Linked DNA regions of Homo sapiens: region 1 is linked to region 2. The links are contacts of gene promoters, found by promoter capture Hi-C in human tissues and cell types (Jung and others, 2019). All regions are on one chromosome and are shown on one strand. The core of a region is centred on a gene start or on the middle of the fragment in contact, and the rest is flanking DNA. Distances in the headings are between cores, read along the strand shown.

Region 1 (6,378 bases), core at 129-2,628, 380 kb before region 2:
AAATTCCTGACCTCAAGTCATCCGCCCACCTAACACTCCCGAAAGTGTTAGGATTACAGGTATGAGCCACCGCCCCCGCCTGGTCGCCTCTTGACTCCCAATAAGATGAATCTGTTTGCCCCAGTGAGCCAAATAAATACCATTTTCACTGAACAAATCATTTTCTGTGTGTGCCATGACATAAAAGAGGTTGGCAGGCCCGTAGAGGTGGCTCATGCCTGTAATCCCAGCATTTTGGAAGACTGAGGCAGGAGGATTGCTTCAGCCCAGGAGTTTAAGACCATCCTGGGCAACATAGTGAGACCCTCCCTCTAAAAATTTAAAAAAAAAAAAAAAAAAAAAGGTTGGCAGCATTTACCAAACGGTGGCTGTTTTTCCTTACCTTGACCCACAGTAAAAATATATAGGGCTTGAGCCCAGGAGTTTGAGACCAGCCTGGGTGACAGAGCGAGACCCTGTCTTACATTGTCACTCAGGCTGGAGTGGTGCAGTCATGGCTTACTGCACCTTCAACCTCCCGGGCTCAAGCAATCTTTTTACGTCAGCCTCCTAAGTAGCTGGGACTACAAGTGCACATCACCATGCCTGGCTAGTTTAAAAAATTTTTTTGGTAGAGATGGGGTTCCATTATGTTGCCCAGGATGGTCTTGAACTCCTGGCATCAAGCAGTGGTCCTGCCTCAGCCTCCCAAGTAGCTGAGAGTACAGGCCCTGCCACCACCACATGCTGCTTAATTTGTATTTTGTAGTGGGATATATTCTGAAATTTTCTGTTTTATTTTGTCATCTTAAAAAATTGCTGCAAGCAGCCGGGCGCAGTTGCTGACGCCTGTAAATCCAGCACTTTGGGAGGCCGAGGCAGGCAGATCACGAGGTCAGGAGATCAAGACCATCCTGGCTAACACGGTGAAACCCTGTCTCTACTAAAAAAAAAAAATACAAAAAAATTAGCCGGGTGTGGTGGTGAGCACCTGTAGTCCCAGCTACTCAGGAGGCTGAGGCAGGAGAATGGCGTGAACCCAGGAGGCGGAGCTTGCAGTGAGCAGAGATCGAGCCACTGCACTCCAGTCTCGGCGACAGAGTGAGACTCCGTCTCAAAAAAAAAAAAAAAAATTGCTGAAAGGGCCGGGCTCGGTGGCTCGCACCTCTAATCCCAGCACTTTGGGAAGCCGAGGCGGGCAGATCACCTGAGTCAGGAGTTCAAGACCAGCCTGGCCAACATGGTGAAACCCCGTCTCTACTAAAACTACAAAATTAGCCGGGCATGGTGGCGCAAGCCTGTAATCCCAGCTACTCGGGAGGCTGAGGCAGGAGAATAGCTGGAATCTGGAAGACGGAGGTTGCAGTGAGCCGAGATGGCGCCATTGCACTCCAGCCTGGGCAAAAAGAGTGAAACTCAAAAAAAAAAAAAGTGCTGCCGGCGTGGTGGCTCACGGCGGACACTTGAGGTCAGGAGTTTGAGACCAGCCTGGCCAACATGGTGAAGCCCCCATCTCTACTAAAAATACAAAAAGTTAGCCGGGGGTGGTGGAGCGCACCTGTAGTCCCAGCTACTCAGGAGGCTGAGGTGGGAGGATTGCTTCGCTCAGGAGGCAGAGGCTGCAGTGAGCTGAGTTCGCACCATTGCACTCCAGCCTGGGTGACAGAGTGAGACCCCCATCTCAAAAAACAAAACAAAACACCAAAATCAACAATAATACAGAAGCTTGAAAGAGGAGCCCCAGGGTACTAAAACCCAGCCCTCTGAAGAGCGGGCCTGGGCCGGCTGGTGCTGGTGCCCGTGCCTCTGAAGGGAGCTCAGGGTAGCTGGTTCTGCAAGGGTTGGAAAAAGTAGAAACTGGATTCAGCTGCTGCTAAAGAACTGCAGCTGCCCCAATGAAGAAGCTTTCCTGGGTACAATACAGGCAAAAATAGTGAGCAGATGGGAGGCTGGGGCCTTCTCCAGCCCTTCAGGCCTCTCTAGCGCCCCCTCTTGGCAGAGCCTGGCAGGGAGCAGCAGGCAATGGAGAAACGTGGCTCTGGGTGCATTGGCTCATGCCTGTAATCATAGCAGTTTGGGAGGCCCAGGCAGGTGGATCACCTGAGGGCAGGCGTTCGAGGCCAGCCTGGGCAACACGGTGAAACCCCATCTCTACTAAAAATACGAAAATTATCTGGGCGTGGTGGCGTGTGCCTGTAGTCCCAGCTACTCAGGAGGCTGAGGCAAGAAAATCTCTGGAATCCAGGAGGCAGAGCTTGCAGTGAGCCAAGATCGCACCACTGCACTCCAGCCTGGGCGACAGGGCAAGACTTCATCTCAAAAAGTAGTAATAAAAAATAAAATTAAGAAAACAAAGACATGTGGCTCTGAGTCCCAGCCAGACCATGAAGCTGAGTTGGGTGGGTGGGTGTTATGAGTTGAGTTCGGTCCCCCCGACTTCAAATTCACATGTTGAAGTCCTGACCTGCAGTACCTCTGAAAGTGACCTTATTTGGAAATAGGGTTGTTGAAGACATCATTAGTTAAGATGAGATCATTAGGGTGGGCCCTAAATCCAGCGTGACTGGTGCCCTTGTAAGAAGGAGAAACTTGGACACAGACACACACGCAGGGAGAAGGCAGGCGGTGCAAAGAGGGAGGCAGAGAGCTACCAAGATTGCTACACGGATTGCTACATATTGTCAACAAACCACCAGAAGCAAGGAGAGCGTCAGGGGACAGATTCGCTCTCACAGCCTCAGAAGGAGTCAACCCTGCCCGTACCTTGATTCCAGACTTCGGTCTCCAGCACTGAGACAATACATTTTGATTGTTTTTGTTTGTTTGTTTGTTTTGAGACGGAGTCTCACTCTGTCGCCCAGGCTGGAGTGCACTGGCGCGATCTCAGCTCACTGCAAGCTCCGCCTCCGGGATTCACGCCATTCTCCTGCCTCAGCCTCCCGAGTAGCTGGGACTACAGGCGCCCGCCACCACGCCCAGCTAATTTTTTTGTATTTTTAGTAGAGACGGGGGGGGTTCCACCGTGTTAGCCAGGATGGTCTCGATCTCCTGACCTCGTGATGTGCCCGCCTCGGCCTCCCACAGTGCTGGGATTACAGGCGTGAGCCACCGCACCTGGCCCATTTTGATTGTTGAAGCCGCCTGGTTTGTGGTATCTTGTTACGACAGCCCAGCGCATTAATATAGTGGGTTTGGAGCTAAGAGTCAAGAGTTTGGCATCATCCCCAAAATGTGCTTGGCCCAGGGCAGTGGGGCCTCAGCTGCAGCTAGAAGCCCTTGGAGCCGGGCGCAGTGGCTCACACCTGTAATCCCAGCACTTTGGGAGGCCGAGGCGGGTGGATTACCTGAGGTTGGGAGTTCAAGACCAGCCTGACCAACATGGAGAAACCTTATCTTTACTAAAAAATATACAATTAGCCAGGCATGGTGGCGCACGCCTGTAATCACAGCTACTTGGGAGGCTGAGGCGAGAGAACTGCTTGAACCCTGGAGGCAGAGGTTGCGGTGAGCCGAGATCATGCCATTGCACTCCAGCCTGGGTGACAGAGTGAGACTCTGTCTCAAAAATAAAAATAAAAATAAAAAATAGAAGCACTTGGGCTCAGACGGTCGGCATCTGAGCAGCAGCAGACCCAGTGGAGAACAGAGTGGAGGCTCTCCCATCTGAGGCCCCGGTGGGGTGGCTCATGCCTGTAATTCCAGCACTTGGGAGGCCAAAGTGGGTGGATCACTTGAAGCAAGGAGTTCGAGACCAGCCTGGCCAACATGGTGAAACCCTGTCTCTACTAAAAATACAAAAATTAGCCGGGCGTGGTAGCGCACGCCTGTAATCCCAGCTACACAGGAGGCTGAGGCAGGAGAATCACTTGAACCCAGGAGGCAGAGGTTGTAGTGAGCTGAGATGGTGCCACTGCACTCCAGCCTGAGCAACAGAGTTGGTGCAGGGAAGAAAGCTCTCCCATCCCCTGGGCACCATGGAATCACCATATAATGCCAGGTGCAGTGGCTCTCGCCTGTAATCCCAGCACTTTGGGAGGCCGAAGTGGGCCAATCACCTTAGGTCAGGAGTTTGAGACCAGCCTGGCCAACATGGTGAAACCCTGTCCCTACTAAAAATACAAAAATTAGCCAGGCATGGTGGTGGGCGCCTGTAATCCCAGCTACTCAGGAGGCTGAGGCAGGAGAATCACTTGAACCTGGGAGGCAGAGGTTGCAGTAAGCCAAGATTGTACGCTCCAGCCTGGATGACTCCGTCTCAATAATAATAATAATAATAATAATAATAATAATAATAATAATAATAGTGATTCTACTGAGGGGGAAGATGCCCCTCCCCATATGCCTGAAGTTGAATTTCTTACTTTCTTGGCAAAGGGCAGCTTATAATCACATTTTTTTTTTTTGAGACGGAGTCTCGCTCTATATGGCCCAGGCTGGAGTGCAGTGGCGCCATCTCGACTCACTGCAAACTCCGCCTCCCGGGTTCACGCCATTCTCCTGCCTCAGCCTCCCGAGTAGATGGGACTATAGGTGCCCGCCACCACGCCCGGCTAATTTTTTGTATTTTTAGTAGAGACAGGGTTTCACCGTGTTAGCCAGGATGGTCTCGATCTCCTGACCTCGTGATCCGCCCGCCTCAGCCTCCCAAAGTGCTGGGATTACAGGCGTGAGCCACCGTGCCTGGCCTATAATCACATTTTACTTGATTTAGGGAAACTACTCAAATGGACATTTCTTTTACCTGAGTTTGGGGGAACAAATTTGTGCTTGATACACCAAGTCTTTTTCTTTCAGCCAGTTGTCCTCTTTCTAATACGCCAGTGAGAAAAATAAAACTCCTGGTAAGTCATTGGTAACTTTCTGCCACTCACCGTTGGTTGCTCTGCTGCGGAGTGGCAGATGCCCTGTGAGGCGTTGGTGATGTTTGGTGACGTGGAAGTGGGCTATTTTGGATGAGTCCTTTTTGGCCGTGGGTATTTCAAGAACACAAATTGCCCGCTCCCTCATCAGAAGCAGGGCCAGAGCGTGTCTGGGGCTGTTTCTGGTTGCTATAGAGATGGGCCCCACCCTGAAGTTCCCGCTGGGACCTCCTGGCTCTGTCAAGTTCAGTTTCCCCAGACACAGCTGCAAGGCCTGTTCTGAGCAATTCCTGCTGTTAGAGTGTTTATACACACCTCGAGTGCATTTCCGCTTCTGAGCCTCCAAAACCACAGAAAGCCAGAAAGGGGCGGTGTGACCTCTGAAGATGTCCGCATCCCAGTACTGAGGAGCCTTGGCTGGAGGGACCCCCCTCTACACCAGAGAGCTGGAGGAGAGGAGGGACCAGGGGAGGTGCTTAAGGGCCTGGCCCCTCCCTGCTATTATATTTCTGGTCCCCCTTCCCAGAGTTAGGGGGCTCTTCTCCACTTCCCTGGCAAGATGCAAGGTGGCAGTTTTAGTCATTTTCATCCTCTTTTTCCCCTCCTTAAGCTTATCTCTCACCTAAATAATAGAATGATTTTGAAACTTCAAACCCTTTTTTTTTTTTTGAAATGAGGTCTCACTCTGTCACCCAGGCTGGAGTGCAGTAGTGTGATCTCAGCTCACCGCAACCTATGCCTCCTGGGCTCAAGCAATCCTCATACCTCAGCCTTCAGAGTAGCTGAGATCCCAGGTGTGCGTCACCATGCCTGGCTAATTTTTTTTTTTTTTTTGTATTTTTGGTAGAGATGGGGTTTCACCATGTTGCCCAGGCTGGCCCTGAACTCCTGAGCTCGTGATCCTCCCGCCTCAGCCTCCCTAAGTGCTAGGATTACAGGCGTGAGCCATGGCGCCCAGCCGAAACTTCAAATCTGATTGTACTGTTTCCCCATGTGAGACCATGCCCTGGCTTCCCATTGTTCCTAGGAAAAGTCCAGAATCCTTACCAGGCTCTGCTCTGCAGGACCTGGCCTGCCACCTCGGGCCTCTCACCCTTCTGCCCTGCACTGCTGTCCCCTGCAGCGCCCTGGCTGGTCTCGAGCCCACACCCATCCTTTCTGTCTTGTTAACTCCTCCTTGTCTTTCAGGCCTCAGCAGTCCTTTCTTCAAGGAAATGAGCCCTAGAAATGGCCTTCTGCCAGCCCCATTAGGGTTCCTTCTTATGGCCACTGTCCTTTTCTTTCTTTTTTTTTTTTTTTGGCAGGGGAGGGGGGACGCGTGGTAAAATATACATAACATAAAATTCACCATTATAACCTTTTTTTTTTTTTTTTTTTTTTTGAGACGGAATCTTGCTTTGTCACCAGGCTGGAGTGCAGTGGCGCAGTCTCGGCTCACTGCAAGCTCCACCTCCCGGGTTCAAGTGATTCTCCTGCCTCAGCCCCCTGAGTAGCTGGGACTACAGGTGCCCGCCACCACACCCAGCTACTTTTTGTATTT
Region 2 (6,328 bases), core at 3,829-6,328:
GTCTTGATCTCCTGACCTCGTGATCTGCCCGCCTCGGCCTCCCAAAGTGCTGGGATTACAGGCGTGAGCCACTGCGCCCAGCCGTAAATTGCATATTTTTAAGTGTATGGTTTCAAATCTAATATTAAATTGATACTCCTAAAGCTAGGAGAAACTTACATTAAAACTTTTATAGTTATTCGACAAAGACTTATTATCCATGCCTTTAAAAACTGTTCTTGCAATAGGAAAGACCCATTTGACAAGAATATGTGTACTCTAAAATAACAAAAATTTGGAGAATGATGATGTAGACAGATGTGATACATCTATGGCTGGGTACGGTAGATCACTTCTGTAATCCCACTGCTTTGGGACCCCGAGGTGGGAGGACTGCTTGAGACCAGGAGTTCAAGACCAGCCTGGGCAACACAGTGAGATACTGTCTCTACAAAAACTTTAAACATTAGCCAGGCATGGTGGTATGTGCCTGTAATCCCAGCTACTGAGGAGGCTGAGGCAGGAAGATCGCTTGAGCCCAGGACTTTGAGGTTACAGTGAGCTTTGATAACACCACTGCACTCCAGCCTGGATGCCAGAGTGAGACCCTGTCTCTAAAAATAAATTATTTAATTTTTTAAAATCTACAATCAGTTGACTTTAAGTAAAGGAGATTATCCTTGATTATGTGGGTGGGCCTCTAGTCAGTTGAAGGCCTTAAAAGCAAAAACCCGGGTTTAACCAAGCTAGCTGGTCAGGACTCTGATTACCATTCTGAATTTCTGTAGTAGGTTTACTTCTTAAAGACTTCAGCAAAACAAATTATTCCTATTTTCCAACTTGCCCAAGTATGTGGAGGGAAACAAACTAGATTTATGAGGTACTGCTTTATATAAATTAAACTGTCTTTATATTATGCCTATTTCTTCCTGGATAGAGAAAACAGGCTTTTATCAATGTGGACTTTTATCAACGTGGATACTTCTGTCAAAAGATGAGCTTCATAAAAGCAACCATCTCCGCAAAGCCATACCTTTCTTTGCTAAACAAATGATCTTGGGCTTTTAAAGATGCAAAGATCTTAGAGAAGCATGTATGACTTCTAACTCAAAAATTACAAAAGTACATCCAAATACAGTAGAACCGTGCTCTAAATTGCTTTCTATGCTAATGTAGAAATGCTATACAGAAACTCCCACCATACTTTCTATTACTTAAATGATTAATATTCACACAATTATTAATAAATCTAAAAATCACCTAATGCATAACATTATTCATTGTTGCACTGTTTGCAATAGTAAGATACTGAAAAAACAACTCACAGATGTTTATCAACAGGAGACTATGTAAAAAAAAAGATGGCATATGCATGCAGAGGAATACTATATAGTTGTTAAAAAGCACAAAGAAACTTATCAAATATGAGACAATATAAAAAGATCTCCAATATCTCTGAAAGCAAACAGAGCAAGGTGTAGAACAGTCTAATAGCATGCTATGCTTGCATTTACACAAGAAACTCTAAAAGAATTCCAAAGAAACCAAAAGTGGTTACATGGGATGGGAGGTTTAGAGGGAGGAAGGAGAACCAGGTGGATGGACAACAGCGGTGAGAACAAGGCTTTCACTGTACACGTTTTCATTCTTTTAAAGTTTGAACCGTGTGACTATATTACCTATTCAAAAATAAATAATTCTAAATAATTTAGGCTATTTATTTCTATCTACCTCTATTTAAGGATAGAAAAAAGCTACAAACCCAAGTCTCAACTTGAAATCTGCCATTCTTGATAGGATTTAAATGTTTGTTTCAATGTGCATACAAAACTAAGAAGTTCCATTAAATATACTAAGAAAAAAGCAATTTCAGCTGGACACTGTGACCGTCATTACAAGGACAGATGATGGTGCTTCTTTCCGAAACAACTGTTCCACCGGCAGTGCAGGTCTAGCCGCTTTCCAGCGAGCCAGATAGTGGTCTCAACTTAACACTCAAACTACAAGGTATGTCATCTGGAGAAAGCTGACTCTGCCACTTGCTTTGTTCCACTGTTAGTACTCAGGATAAGGAGACTTCTCAAAATCAACCCAGGTTGATTCCTCTATAGGGACTTCAATTATGACACGAAATAGCCTTCATTCCATAATCATGGAATGATTGTTTTAAGTCTTGTTTTTTGAGTACAAGTTCAAAACCCAATTCCTTGAGAGGTGGAGGCAGACAGTATAGTAGGAAGAACACTAACTGGCTGAGAGACCCTGGCCATACCAATTCATTTCTCTGGGTCTCCATTTTCTTATCAGTGAAATGAATGGGAGGCCAAGGCGGGAGGATTGCTTGAGACCACGAGTTCAAGACCAGCCTGGGCAACATAGTGAGAGAGTGTCTCTACAAAAAACTTGCCTGGGCGTGGTAGCTCACACCCGTAATCCCAGCACTTTGGGAGGCCGAGGCAGGCGGATCACCTGAGAGGTCAGGAGTTCAAGACTTGCCTGGCCAATATGGTGAAACCCCATCTCCACTAAAAATACAAACAATTAGCCGGGTGTGGTGGCAAACACCTGTAATCCCAGCTACTTGGGAGACTGAGGCGGGAGAATTGCTTGAACCCTAGAGGCAGAGGTTGCAGTAAGCCAATATTGCACCACTTCATTCCAGCCTGGGCGTGACAGAGAGAGACGATGACTCAAAAAAAAAAAAAAAAAATTAAACATTAGCTAGGCATGGTGGTCATGGCCAAACTCTGTCAACGGTTCCTTTCAGGACTAATACTGTAATCCCATAAAGAGCCAGGTCAATTCAAAGATCAGAAGAAAGGCGATGCCTCCGTCTAGAGCATATATGCAAGCTCACATAAGGTTTCAAATACACAAAGGTTTGCTGACAGAGACAGGATGTTCTGATTCTATTTTCTATGTTTTAGCTTCAACAGAAATAATGTGGTCCACTTGCTATAAAGACTTCTCTCATGTATAACTTCTGATTTAACATGAATTACAGTTTTACAGTTAAACTTTTAAAACTGGTAGAGAGGAGAGGATTATTTATTGAGTGTGCTAATTAACAAAAGTTTTGGTTTGGTCTATTGTCTTTTTATTATCATCACCCAAGATTCATACTTGTACAAATATGCTTTGGGGAACAGCCTTCCAGAGGTTTACCTATGTTAAGTCCCACATATGAAAGAGCGGTGAATACTTTCCTGAGGCAGCAAACACTATTGAAAATTCCAAGCTCAGCAAAGTATGCTCCATATTTTGATCAATAAAAGCCATGTGGTTTAAGAAAAACAGAGCCCACAAATACTGCTGCATATTTTTGTCTATTTTAAAAAGTTTTCCTCATGCCGCCCTAAGAATATTTTTGTCTATTAAAAAACAAAATCTATGCCTTGGTTAGCGTTGATTTTATGTAGTCATAATCAGTCAGAGCTTTATTAAAATACTAACGACCCACAGCTTTATCTTAGACCTTTCTAAAACAATTCTTCACCATATTCATCTTTGCAAGGATTCATTCTTTGGTACAAAAGCAGTGAGAAACACAGCTCTGGCAGACACTCTGCAGGGATGCGGGCAGGTTCATCGTCTGGCCCCTGCTTTCACCTGGCAGACACTGGACACACTGCTGAGAAACCAGCTCATCTCAGTATGTCTCTATTCTACCAAAAAGAGACGAGGCTCTGCTCCAATTCTGACACCTCATTCCGAAATCACCAAAATCTCCATCGGGTCCTAAGCAGACAGAATGTCGCAGCCATTCATCCTCAGAAGTCTTGAGAATAAAATTAAAAGTAATTAATTAAAATAAAACTACTTGCAATTAAAAGTAAACACCGGCTAGGTCATGCAATTCATACTGGCCGGTGCTCACATAACTGAACTACCTTGTGATTCTCTGCTTTGCTGTCAAAATCCTCCTCCACCTCCAATGCTGATACCACAATCCAGAGGCTAGAGACATTTAAGTGAAGGGATGATTCTAATAACAAACATACTTCTATACGTTTCCAATACCTCTGCCCTGTCCCAGAGCTGGTCCCACTCCAAAACCCAGGCTTGCCACTACGCTAGCAAAGGGGCAATCCGAGTAACTCTGATACTCAGATTCCCAAACATTTCTGTTACTTTCCACCACCACCACCCCCCCCACCCCCCGGCTTCTGACAGCCTCTGCAAAAGCACCAGCACTGCAAATGCCTGTTTGGCTTCCATCCTTCAGCAGGCAATGGAAGCTTTTCCAGGAGAAACCTAATTCTAACCTTTCCAGAGGCCAGGAGACGGCAGCGCAGGGATAGCACCTGGCGCAAGTGCCTGTTTGGATGCCGAGGTCGCCTCCCTCGCGGCCCTCGGACCCCGCGAGGCAGGTAGGCTTTGGGCCGGGCCGGCCGGGTCCGTGCGGGGCGCCGACCTCGCCTACGACGCCGCAGCCCCGCTCCCCAGGAGCCTCGGTCCCTGCGGGCACGCGTCCCCGTCACGGGGCCGATTACAATGGAGGCCGCTCCCGTCCTCCCGTGGAGGGGCTCGGTGCCCTCGGTGACCCTGCTAGACCCGGCAGGACGCCCCTTGGGCTAATTCGCCCGGGGCGGGGGAGACCTCGGCCTTCTCGAAGACCTCCCGCGCTCGAAGACCGTTTCGGAGCGTCCGCAACCACTGAGTCCCCGAAGACCCGCGGGGCCCCCTCAGGCCGTCCCGACCCAGACCCCTGCCCCTGCCCCTCTCCCTCCTCGCGGCTGCGGCGCCCGCCCGCCCTCACCGGACTTGGGCGGGTAGCGGTACACGGAATTAGACGGGATGTCCACCTCCTCCACGCCCGCGTGCTGCCGGCTCGTCAGGGCCCCCATGGCCGCTGCGGCTGCAGCCCCGGCCCGGCCCCGGTGCCCGCGCCGCCCTCCGCGCTTCACCGCGGCCGCCCGCCCCGCGCCCGGTGCGGGGGCCGACTGCCCGCCGCGGCCGGCTCCGCTGCGGCGCTGCGGCTCTGGCGGCGGGGAGCCCCCGGCGCGCCGCGCACCATCCTCCGCCGGGCACCGCGGCGGCGCCTCTGCCAAGGGGGCTGCGGGTCTGGGCCGGGGGCGCCGCCGCCGCCTCAGGCCGCGTGATGTCAGCGGCCGCTCCGCGCGGGGACCGCGGCGGCCCCAGCCAATGGCGAGGCGGGGCGGGAGCGCCCGCGCCGGAGCAGCCAATGAGCGCGGGACTGCAGCAGGAGCCGGCGGCGCGTGCCTCGCGCGGGGAGCCGCGGCTGGACTCGGCGCGCGTGGACGCGGCCCAGGGCCTCGCGGCGGGGGCGTGGGCGTGGGCGGGGACTCGCGACGGGGACGGGGGCGCGGCCGGGTGCCCGCGGCGGGGCGGGGCGGGACCGGCCGGAGCTGGGACCCCAGGAGACGAGCGCTGCACCCGGCCGGGACGCGTCGCCCCTCCGCGCCTGTTTATCCCGGCTCGGATTACCGCGCAGGGAGCCGCCCCCTCCCGCGGTCCGCGAGGACTGGCCGGGAGCTCGCTCGCCATTGTCCTGGGCGTCCCAAAGCGGGCGGTCCCCGCTCCGCTGCTCCCGCGCCTGGAGGAAGCCTTCCCAACCCCGCCCCTCAGCGTCGGCCGGCGGAGGTCTTCGGAAATCTCATGCAGGGGGGTAGGGAGAGGGGTCCCACGGTGCATTCGCATGTCTCCTGCCCCGTGTTAATGCTGGTGACCGGCTAGGAAGATGCCGCCTCCCTCTCACGTGCGTCTATTCAAAGCGCTCCCAACTCTATACATGCTGTTTAAGGCTCCTTGTAGCCCTAAAGTTAGGAGAACATCGACTGAGGATAAGATCAAGACATCCAGCCTCTGTCTGTATCGTGGAAACGGGACCCCGGAAACTTTGGAAAGGCCTGAGTGCCAAGAGAGTCAACGCAGGCGAAAGCGAACCGGGCCAGGCAGAACCGGGAGCTCCTGTTGATAAAAACACACACAACAGTGGGAAGCTTGGGCCGGCGGAAGACGTCATTCCATTGCTTAATTACAGACATTTGTGTTTTAAACCTTCTATTTTCTTTGTGGGTCTGGTGTTTTTTTTCCTGAGAGAGTGGACTGATCAGCAAACATTTCAACTGCTAGAACATGACTTTCACAACTTTTCAACAGTGTTCGAAGTACAGTTTGGGGTGTCTGGTTCCCTTGATTAGGTTTGTAAAGCTATTTTACGGAGTCTAGGTCTTTCCTGGTTATATTTTGTTTTTGTTTTTCTGTGTTTTGAGACGGAGTCTCCCTCTGTCGCCCAGGCTGGAGTGCAGTGGCGTGATCTCAGCTCACTGCAACCTCCGCCTCCTGGGTTCAAGGGATTCTCCTGCCTCAGCCTCCCGAGTAGCTG

Evidence for each region. The method cuts DNA at HindIII sites, captures the fragments that hold promoters and counts their contacts. A contact is called where the count stands out against the background at its distance.
Region 1: a fragment that was not itself captured here is called in contact with the fragment with the promoter of RNF157 in region 2 in 1 of the 25 tissues and cell types used here (heart right ventricle).

Annotation. Positions count from the first base shown.
Region 1 is chr17:75,859,523-75,865,900 of GRCh38, forward strand. No RefSeq gene overlaps it. Among named protein-coding and RNA genes, the nearest start is that of WBP2, 7.4 kb to the left of the region's middle. RefSeq lists enhancers at 5,006-5,300, 5,368-5,527, 5,431-5,931. The HindIII fragment of the contact is 4,574 bases long and covers 1-3,665 here.
Region 2 is chr17:76,235,415-76,241,742 of GRCh38, forward strand. RNF157 (ring finger protein 157) reads right to left here and starts at 5,079. Exons shown (of 19, transcript NM_052916.3): 1 at 4,739-5,079. The coding sequence starts at 4,826. LOC105371896 (a long non-coding RNA gene) reads right to left here. Exons shown (of 6, transcript XR_007065913.1): 6 at 5,448-6,328. RefSeq lists an enhancer at 4,047-4,719 and silencers at 5,024-5,163, 5,184-5,253. The HindIII fragment of the contact is 11,074 bases long and covers 1-6,328 here.